Regions from separate parts of the Homo sapiens genome. Here region 1 is linked to region 2. The links are contacts of gene promoters, found by promoter capture Hi-C in human tissues and cell types (Jung and others, 2019). All regions are on one chromosome and are shown on one strand. The core of a region is centred on a gene start or on the middle of the fragment in contact, and the rest is flanking DNA. Distances in the headings are between cores, read along the strand shown.

Evidence for each region. Contacts are between HindIII fragments. The study calls those that stand out against the background at their distance.
Region 1: a fragment that was not itself captured here is called in contact with the fragment with the promoter of PLCH1 in region 2 in 1 of the 25 tissues and cell types used here (mesenchymal stem cells).

What each region holds. Positions count from the first base shown.
Region 1 is chr3:154,729,784-154,734,644 of GRCh38, forward strand. No RefSeq gene overlaps it. Among named protein-coding and RNA genes, the nearest start is that of GPR149, 300 kb to the left of the region's middle. The HindIII fragment of the contact is 5,824 bases long and covers 40-4,861 here.
Region 2 is chr3:155,743,448-155,747,830 of GRCh38, forward strand. PLCH1 (phospholipase C eta 1) reads right to left here and starts at 1,624. Exons shown (of 23, transcript NM_014996.4): 1 at 1,393-1,624. RefSeq lists enhancers at 861-1,482, 1,377-1,586. The HindIII fragment of the contact is 7,162 bases long and covers 1-2,882 here.

The DNA of each region.
Region 1 (4,861 bases), core at 1,702-4,201, 1.0 Mb before region 2:
AAATGTGCTTGCAGTTCTTGCAGTTGCTGACATGAATTCTTTTGGATTCTGAGGTGATTTAGTGTTTTTGTCCAGAAAACAAGAATCACATATTGTTCATCTTTCTAAGCCATAAAAAAGAATTGTGATGCATAACGATATTAAAATTCTATGAAAGAAACATATGACTGCAAAGTATTTCTGTTACCAAGGACTCAGAGTCACACCTCTGTTATTTTGCTTTTATGCCAAGGAGAACAAGGTCATTAAATGCAGCCCAGACCCACATATTGCATTCCCACTGGCTCAAGAGGATGCTGCCTGCAAAGAATGTAGGACAATTTAGTAAAACTGTTAAGAGCTAGCTGAAAAAGAATTTTAAAATGCAGAGGGTAATTTGACAAAATTGAAATCTTTTATAATAGCACTGCAAAGATTAAAATAATTGTAGCACAAGATAATTCTGTCACACTTTATCATTCTGTTCTTAACATCTGGAGATGTTATGAGGTAGATTTGGCATTCTACTATAATTTCTACCAGCATGTGTTATTATTTCTTTCCATCAACCCTGCAAGGCAAAGCTCACCCAAGTGCATTAAGTCATTCTCTGGCACATGATTTCTTTCAGTTATTTTAGAGCAGGAAATTTAATGGTACTCTAGCACTCTCCTGTGACCAGCTGAGCATAACACCTCCAGGCACTCTATGCCTTCGTCTCATAAGTAAGCTTAATGACATTAATTTGGCAAAGCAATCTAAAATTCTTTATAATCTGTCTCTCTCCTCTTTACTCATGCTTGCATAGGTATATACACCCACATCTGACTGAGTTATAAAATGCTTTCTAGTTGAAAGCAAAATATTTTCCTTTCATTGACACTGGAATGATAATTACTGCACTGTTGGTCATTAAACCAATAACTCTATAGGGAAATACCGCGATGAATGAACAAATTCCTTCTAAGACTTTTAATCAAAATATCTTCAATGAATATGAGTATGTGTCATAGTAAAGAATATGAGTATGTGTCATAGTAAAGTTGTTATTGAATTGCACATGTACATTTAAGATATTTACTATAACGTGGCTGGTCTATTTTCAAATAGCAACAAAAGCAAGATACAGAAAATGATGATTCATTATTCTGCCAAAGTCCTAGAGTGCTGAAATTTGCAGCCTTAGATTTAAAAAAGCAATATTCTCAGGCATTCTGTAAATACTCAGTGAGCTGAAAATGGGCCCAATTTCTTCCACACTTCCAATAGTCTGTTATCTTACTCAGATTTTATATAGCAAAAAAAAAAAAAAGGGTGGGGGGTGACTCTGCTACTGTGGAAAGCAGCTTGGAGATTTCTCAAAGAACTTAAAAAGATAACTACCATTTGACCCAGTAACCCTATTACTGGATGTATATCCAAAAGAAAACAAATTGTTCTAACAAAGAAACACATACACTCACATGTTCATCACAGCATTATTCACAATAACAAGGACATGGAATCAACCTAGGTGCATCAATGGTGGGTTGGATAAAGAAAGAGTGGTATACATACACCATGGAATACTACACAGCCATAAAAAAGAATGAAATCATGTCCTTTGAAGCAACATGGAAAGAGCTGAAGGCCATTATCCTAAGTGAATTAACACAGAAACAGAAAACCACATACTACATGTTCTCACCTATAAATGGAGCCTAATATTGGGTACTCATGGACATAAAGAGAACAATAGAAGCAGGAACTACTAGAAAAGGGAAGGAGGAATGGGGATAGGGTTGAAAAACTCATTATTGGGTCACAGGATCATTTGTACCCCAAAACTCAGCATCACACAGTTACCCAGCTAACAAACCTGCACATGTACCCTCCGAATCTGAAATAAAAATTGGAAAAAATATGGCTTTACAAAAGTACACCTAGATAGGAAGAATAAGTTCTAGCATTGAATAGCACTATGGGGTGACTGTAATTAACAAAAATTAATTGTGTATTTTCAACTAGCTAGAAGAATAGATTTTGAACATTCCCAACACAAGGAAATAATACATGCTTGAGGTGATGAATATACTAATTACCCTGATTTGAGATCGTTACATATTGTATACCTGTGTCAAAATAGCACACTGAACCTTGTAAATATGTATAATTATGTGTCAATTGAAAATAATAAAAGCAAAAAAAAGTAAGCCAAAAGTGACTTTAGGTTAGTTAACATTTCATCAACTTTTCTATACTAACAAATCTAAAAATGTAAAATAAAAAATACATACATTTAGTCATCAAATTACTTTGTCTCTTGTTTCTTTTCTAGGTAGGAATAGGAATGCCAAAAAGAGAAAAAAAATGATTAGTTTTCTTTTTATTATTTGGGTCCCTATAGAAATGAATAATTTAAATAACTATTGTGATACTGTGCTTATTAAATGAGCCAGCTGACTCATTTCTTGATGAAATGAAAAGAAGAAGACAGAAGCTGCTTCTTTTCCATTTCATCCATACCTCTCATCTCAGCCTTTCATGATTTCATGCCAGAGACAACTGCTTTAGCTTTTAGGATATCACTCTTCACTTCTCCCCTCTCTAATTTCTCCATTACTACATTATTCCCATTGTGTCACTTAGCAACAAACACCTGCAATAATAATACCTGCCATGACCTAAAAGATGGAAATGTAACTGTTTTTGGCATTTTAAATGTACAGCTAATTTTTCAATACTGTCTACCATGGCCATCTTCCTTAAATCCATCAGAATTAAATGTCTGCCGAACTCCACATTCATTCCTGATTTGTGCAATATTACTCATAAACATCTCACCTAGAATGCTTTCTCTCTGCTTATCTCATCTTAGCTATTTCTTATCCTCCTTCCTCTGGCTGATCAGATTCTCTCTTCCTGACAAAACCTTTCCTCAAAGTTCAATCCAAAGTGATTTTTCCATAGTGAATTTCATTGGTCTGTTTTCCTCTTTAGGTAATCCATCATATTCTGTATTATGATATTTAAGAGATTAGGGAATTTTATTCACCTGAATTTCAGAAGAGCTGTTCTTCTTACAATAAGTGATCAGAGCAGGGAAATGAAAGCACATCTATGTGGACTCTGTTGGTGGGGAAGGGTGAGAAACTGAGTGTGAGGAGCAGAGGACAAGAGGCAGAGCAGGAGAGTGACATGGTTTGGCTGTGTCCCCACCCAAATCTCATCTTGAATTGTAGCTCCCATAATTCCCATGCATTGTGGGAAGGACCCAGTGGGTGATAATTGAATCACGGGGGCAGTTTTCCCCATACTTTTATGGTAGTGAATAAGTCTCACGAGTTCTGATGGTTTTTATAAGGGGAAATCCGTTTTGCTTGATTCTGATTCTCTTTTTGCCTGCTGCCATGGAAGACGTGCCTTTCACCTTTTGCCATGATTGTGAGGTCTCCCCAGCCACATGGAATTGTGAGTCCACTAAACCTCTTTTTCTTTATAAATTACCCAGTCTCCAGTATGTCTTTATCAGCAGCATAAAAAACAGACTAATACACAGGGGATGAGGGAAACGTGCTGATGAGGGGACTTCATGGATAGAGAGGAGAGCTGCCATGAAAGTGAAGTACTAGAGAGAATTAAACCATAAGAAGATATTTAGAATATTGTGTTGAGAAAAGCAGTATGTTATCTAATTTTCTATACTATTTCTAGAAGAAAGACTACTAGAAGGGTATTATTTTTCAAGGTTAGCAAAATGAAATATGAGGTGTTTTGAATACACTGAGACTAGACACAAAAAGATGTAGGTTTATAAATAAGACATAAGATGTATTGGTAACCTTTAAATTTTTTATTTGAAGGAATATTTAAATATTTTTATGAGTTTATGATGTCATTCTTATTTACACTCTTGAGAGGAGAAAATGTATATATTTTGTTATCTTAGAATATGTCATCTACAGAATAGGACTAATAATATAAGTTTTTCTTGAGTGCTTCTGTGGAGAGTCCAGAAAACTTTTTTGAATAAAAGGTTTCTCAATGTCAAAGTTACTTCAGAAATAGAGTTTTGTTATGCAAATTTTAAAAATATACTTAATGACTCAAGGAGATGTCAACCTACCACTTTTGACTCAAGGAGATGTCAACCTACCACTTTTTTTTTTTTTTTTGAGTCATGCTCTGTCGCCCAGGCTGGAGTGCAGAGGCCCGATTTCGGCTCACTGCAACTTCCGTCTCCCAGGTTCAAACGATTCTCCTGCCTCAGCCTCCTAAGTAGCTGGGATTACAGGCGCACACCACCACGCCCTGCTAATTTTTGTATTTTTAGTAGAGACGGGGTTTCATCATGCTGGTCAGGCTTGTCTCGGACTCCTGACCTTGTGATCCGCCCACATTGGCCTCCCAAAGTGCTGTGGTTACAGGCATGAGCCACCGCGCCGGCCTCAACCTAACACTTTTAATTGCATGTGCATGTGTGTGTGTGTGTGTGTGTGTGTGTGTGTGTTTTCCTGGCCTTAAAGCTTAAGGGACAGCTTAGTTAAAATATCCAAAAAAGAATTAGGAAGCATATAATCTGCTCCTTTAGAAGAAGAGTTAGAATAAAGAGAGGCGGTAGTTGATAACATCAATTATGAGTTCCTTATGACATTTTTATTTTAATTCCCTTATTCAAATACCAATGCTTCTGGAGTCTATTCTGAACACATTGTGCCTAAGATGGAAGAATCTTCCCCCAAAAATGCAACTAGAGCATCAAGATCCATTTTTATGACTGAAAGCCAGACAGTGGAGTACAGTGGGTAGTTTCCTATGGTGGGTAATTTTGTGTAAGAAAAATAAAAATTTTTCCATCTTCTTTTGTTAATGAAACAGTGAGTCATGGTCTAGGAGTCTGAGG
Region 2 (4,383 bases), core at 374-2,873:
CTTGAACCCAGGAGGCGGAGGTTGCAGTGAGCCGAGATCGCACCACTGCACTCCAGCCTGGGCGACAGAGCCAGACTCCGTCTCAAAAAAGAAAAAAAGAAAAAGAAAATGACCAGCTTGAGAAAACTGGCTTCTGTTAAGGCTTCTTGAAGCATTCTCTGCAGAAGACTTTAACCCCAAAGGTGACCAAAACGCTGAGGCAACTGAAAAAAACTACCGCCTCTTCTGGGAAATCCTTTGTTTCTTTTCATTGGCATTATACTCTGGTCCCTTTTGCAGAGCATCTCCTTGTCATAAACATGCCAATAAACAGGACATGGGTGCTGCTGGGTTGTACAAGCTCTGCTCTTCACCTGGGTTAGGAGGCACAGATTTGTTCTTGTAACGCTCGAGAACAATCACTTCACTGAATTTTCTAACTCCTTACCAGGAAGTAAATGTTTTATTCGTCTCCCCTTTTCGGGACAGAGGGGGATTTCAATTGCTGCCCTAATAACTAATCTCTCACCATTTTCTTCTGTCCGTGATCAAAACGGTAACAAGGGAAGGGAAAAGTTGGGTTTTTTTTTTTAATTTAGTTGGTTATTGCTTTAATGCTGAACTCTCAACGTCAAAATGTGATCACAAATTGATTCGCAGAAGGAAACAAATAGAAAAAGCCTCGGGAAGGAGGGGAGAGGGCGTCGCAGACGCTCAACAGGGAACTGGGTTTAGGGGCTCGCGGGGTGGCGTCTCGGACCCGCAGCTCAGTCGCCAAGGAAACGCCGCGCAGGCGCAGAGCGTGCCGCCGCGGGGCCGGGGTTTGCCTCCACCACCCCGCGCCGCTCGGGCGCTCTTGGTTCTTCCCAGGAAAGGGCAATGGAGTATATCCTCCTCGCGCTGAGCACACCTAGTCTCTAAGAGGTCCTGAGCAGGGTCACCGGGCGCAGGAAAAGCTGTGAGACTCCCCAAGTGTAACGGACGCTGCACTCCCCTTGCTGGGAAACGCGGACCTGCTCTCCTGGCGGCGTCTGGCGGTCAGAGAGAGGGTCCCGGGACCCCGCGTGAGGGTGAAGCATCCTGCAGCGAGGCTGGACCTTCCACCGGGCGAAACGCCACCCACCACCACCGCAAGGGACCCGAGAGTTACATTATTTCGCGGACACACACACCCACCCTCATCCTTCTGAATTATGGGACCCTGAAGAGCGGCCGTGGCCAGTTCCCCGCACGGGGCCTTAGGGGATCCCCACGCACAGCACTCACAGTCCTAAACAGGCGTGTGCCGGCTGTGGCTGCCGAGAAAGGAACTTGGGCCACCTGCTCACTCGCTCATCGGACTGGCGTACCAGTTCTCTTTTTCCTGCACACCCCCTTCTCTCCTGGGCCCCTTCTTCCCCCGAAAGCACTGACCTCCTCAGCTTTGAGTGTTCAGTAGCTGAAGGACTCCTCGGAGTCCGTGGCACAAGGAGCCACCTCCGAAGTGCTGGGGTGATGAGTTATTGGCCCCTGTGACTCCAACTCCAAACCCCTGCCAAGGGCCAGAAAAGCCCCCCTAGAAGAGCACTTCTCCCCACTAGCCAGCAGAAGCCCCAGACGAGCGGGGAAGAGCAGGGCGCCGCCGCCACAACCTGCTTTCTCATTCAAATCCTCACGCTCACACAGGAGCCCCCCTCCCTCTCGGCCCCGCAGCTTCCGAGGAAATCAGGAACTGGAGTTGCGGAGAGCGGACTGGAGCGCCTGCTGCCTCCTCTGGCCCGGGCGGGATGGGTGTACGGAACCCTAGGGCTGCACGTGGAACCCCAAGGCTGCACCTGGAACCCTTGGCTTACACTCTCCTGCGGGGCTCCCCGCTTGGCAAGGGCCAGAAGCACTGGGAATGAAGTACTTTTACTCCCCCGCAAGTTTCAAAAGTTTCGAAACCCAGGGTAACCCCTCGGGGCTGTAGCCAGAGGGCCTCGGTGGTGGGGGGTAAAGGAGTTGGAGAAACAAAGTTGGAAGTGAAGGGCGCAGGGAATGGGAACTGCGTGCAACTTGCACCAAAGTGAAAAGTGTTCTCAAACGTCCGTCTTACCTCCTTTAAAAAAAAAAAATTTCTAAGAATATAGCATCTGTCGATGCCGCAAATTAAAGAGATCTACTCTGAGTGAATGGGAACTGCGTGCAACTTGCACCAAAGTAAAAAGTGTTCTCAAACGCCCGTCTTACCTCCTTTAAAAAAAAAAAATTTCTAAGAATATAGCATCTGTCGATGCCGCAAATTAAAGAGATCTACTCTGAGTGAAGTGCAACTAAAATTGAGAGCGTGTAAATGGTAACACTTTGCTTTTATTTACCCCCAGTCTCTTCATTTGGAAATGCTACTCCTTGGCATTAACAGGCCACTTATTCACTTAGATCCGTTTAGTGGCTGGTTGACTCAAGCGGGCAACCTGCCGGGAGTAAGAAGGCGGCGGTGGCAGAGGAAAGCTTGCACGAAGCAGGCACTCAAGTGTTGATGAAACGATGAAATCTACTGAATGCACTGAAAGGATGAGTGACCAGCTTGGGGCGGATGCTGGAACCGCCGCTGGCCTAGACGGCCGCGGTGTGATCCGGCTTCTGGATTCCAGGATTTACATTTATCAGCCTTCATTCAACCTGCCCTATTGTTAGTTCAAAGCCTGGCTGGGAAGGAGTGGGGACGCAGCTCTTCACTCACCTTTCAGTTTAAAATAATCCTCCAATAAGAATGTCCTAGGAAAGCTGGCAGCATGGGGTTGGCAGGGATTTTCTGGGCTTAGTGACAACATAAACTAAAGTCATTTTCTTTTTTCATGCGTGAATTTGCCCAGGAAGTTACAAACGAGTAAGTTACAAATGAGTGCCTGAGATTGGAGCTCAGGGCCTTGGCTGCCTGTTCTCTTTGACAGACAGTGTGGAGGGTGGTAGCACTGTGACCTCTCAGCGCAAGATCTAGGGTTTCACCTTTTCATCCCACTTAGCCGATACCATAGAAACAACCCATTTGTATTATTCAATTCAACAGAGGCAATTACAATGTCACAGCAAAGCACCATGGGCAAGAAGAAACTTTGTCCTGAAAACAATCCTAGACTCTCAGAAAAAAGAAAAAAGCCACCAGAATACCCACTTGAATTTCTTCCTGCCAATAGTACCAGGAAGAAATCAATTTGGAAAAAATGTAGGTAAGGTCCTTTGCCTCTATAGAAAGAAACCTCCCCAAATTTACTTGTTTTTGTTTTTGTTTTTTTGCATGCCCATACACAAGCCTCAATTTATAAGAAATTAAGTCATTAACCCTCTGCCTCCAAACTGCTTTATATTTTGTAAACAAGCTTGTTGGAGATTTGTTTTGCTGGTAACCTCCATGGTGAATAGAAAAGCCAAAAAAAAAAAAAAAAAAAAAAAAACCACCAAGATAATCCCTCAACAGCAGCAGTTCACCCCCTAACCTCCGGTGTTTGTCTTTCTTGAGTCTGAAAAAATGCAGATGCACATGTTGAAATAAACTCAGACACAAAGTTCATAATAAGAGCACTTGTTTGCTATGCATTCTTTATTTTGATAGTTTTAATCAACTCCCATAATTTTGTAAACTTTTAAATTTTTAAATTGTGTGATATTTCAAACCTACCAAAAACAGGATATATACCATGTAATACTCCTGCTCCCCCCAGCCCTTCTTTTTTAAATAAAGCATTACAGATATAGCTAAACCCCAACTCCTGACTCGTTACCCCCACCCCTTCCCAAAGGTAATAATTCTGAAGTTGGTATGAATCATAATTATGCATGTTCTTAAATGTTTAGGACATTTATACATCCATAATCTTTTAATGTAGCTTTTCTCTCCAAGTCGTTTTAACATTATTTATCTGAGAAAAATCACTAAAACAATTAATTAATTAATTGGAGAAAATCACTAAAAACAAGAAAATGTGTTACATTGCTAAGTTTTTAGAAGCAGGACAGAACTATTTTTCCTGCTTGTGACAATCAGAGTATGGAATAATAACAAAGGGATTAGACAGTGGGTAATAAGCAGCCTCTCTAGGTTACACAAACTCTTCCATGGTTACCAAAGAATAAATAGAAAAACAAAACAAATAATACCCTCCTCTTTCACTGGTTAAAGGGGAACTGGAGAAAATGAGATCTTCATTAAAACTTCTTTGGGCAGGTAAGACAAACATCCTACATGGTAGTAAAGTACCTTTTCTAGAGGATCTCTTGGTCATGCAAGCTATGATCTTTTAGTAAGGATTTACCACTTTTCCAAGTATAAAGAACTCCTGCTGGTAGCTCAATACAAGGTTGAAATCCGCCTGGCTGAAAAGTCTGGGGTTGAATTAGCCCTGCCTCTTCAAGCACAGGGACATCCATCTGTACAGTAGTTACAAA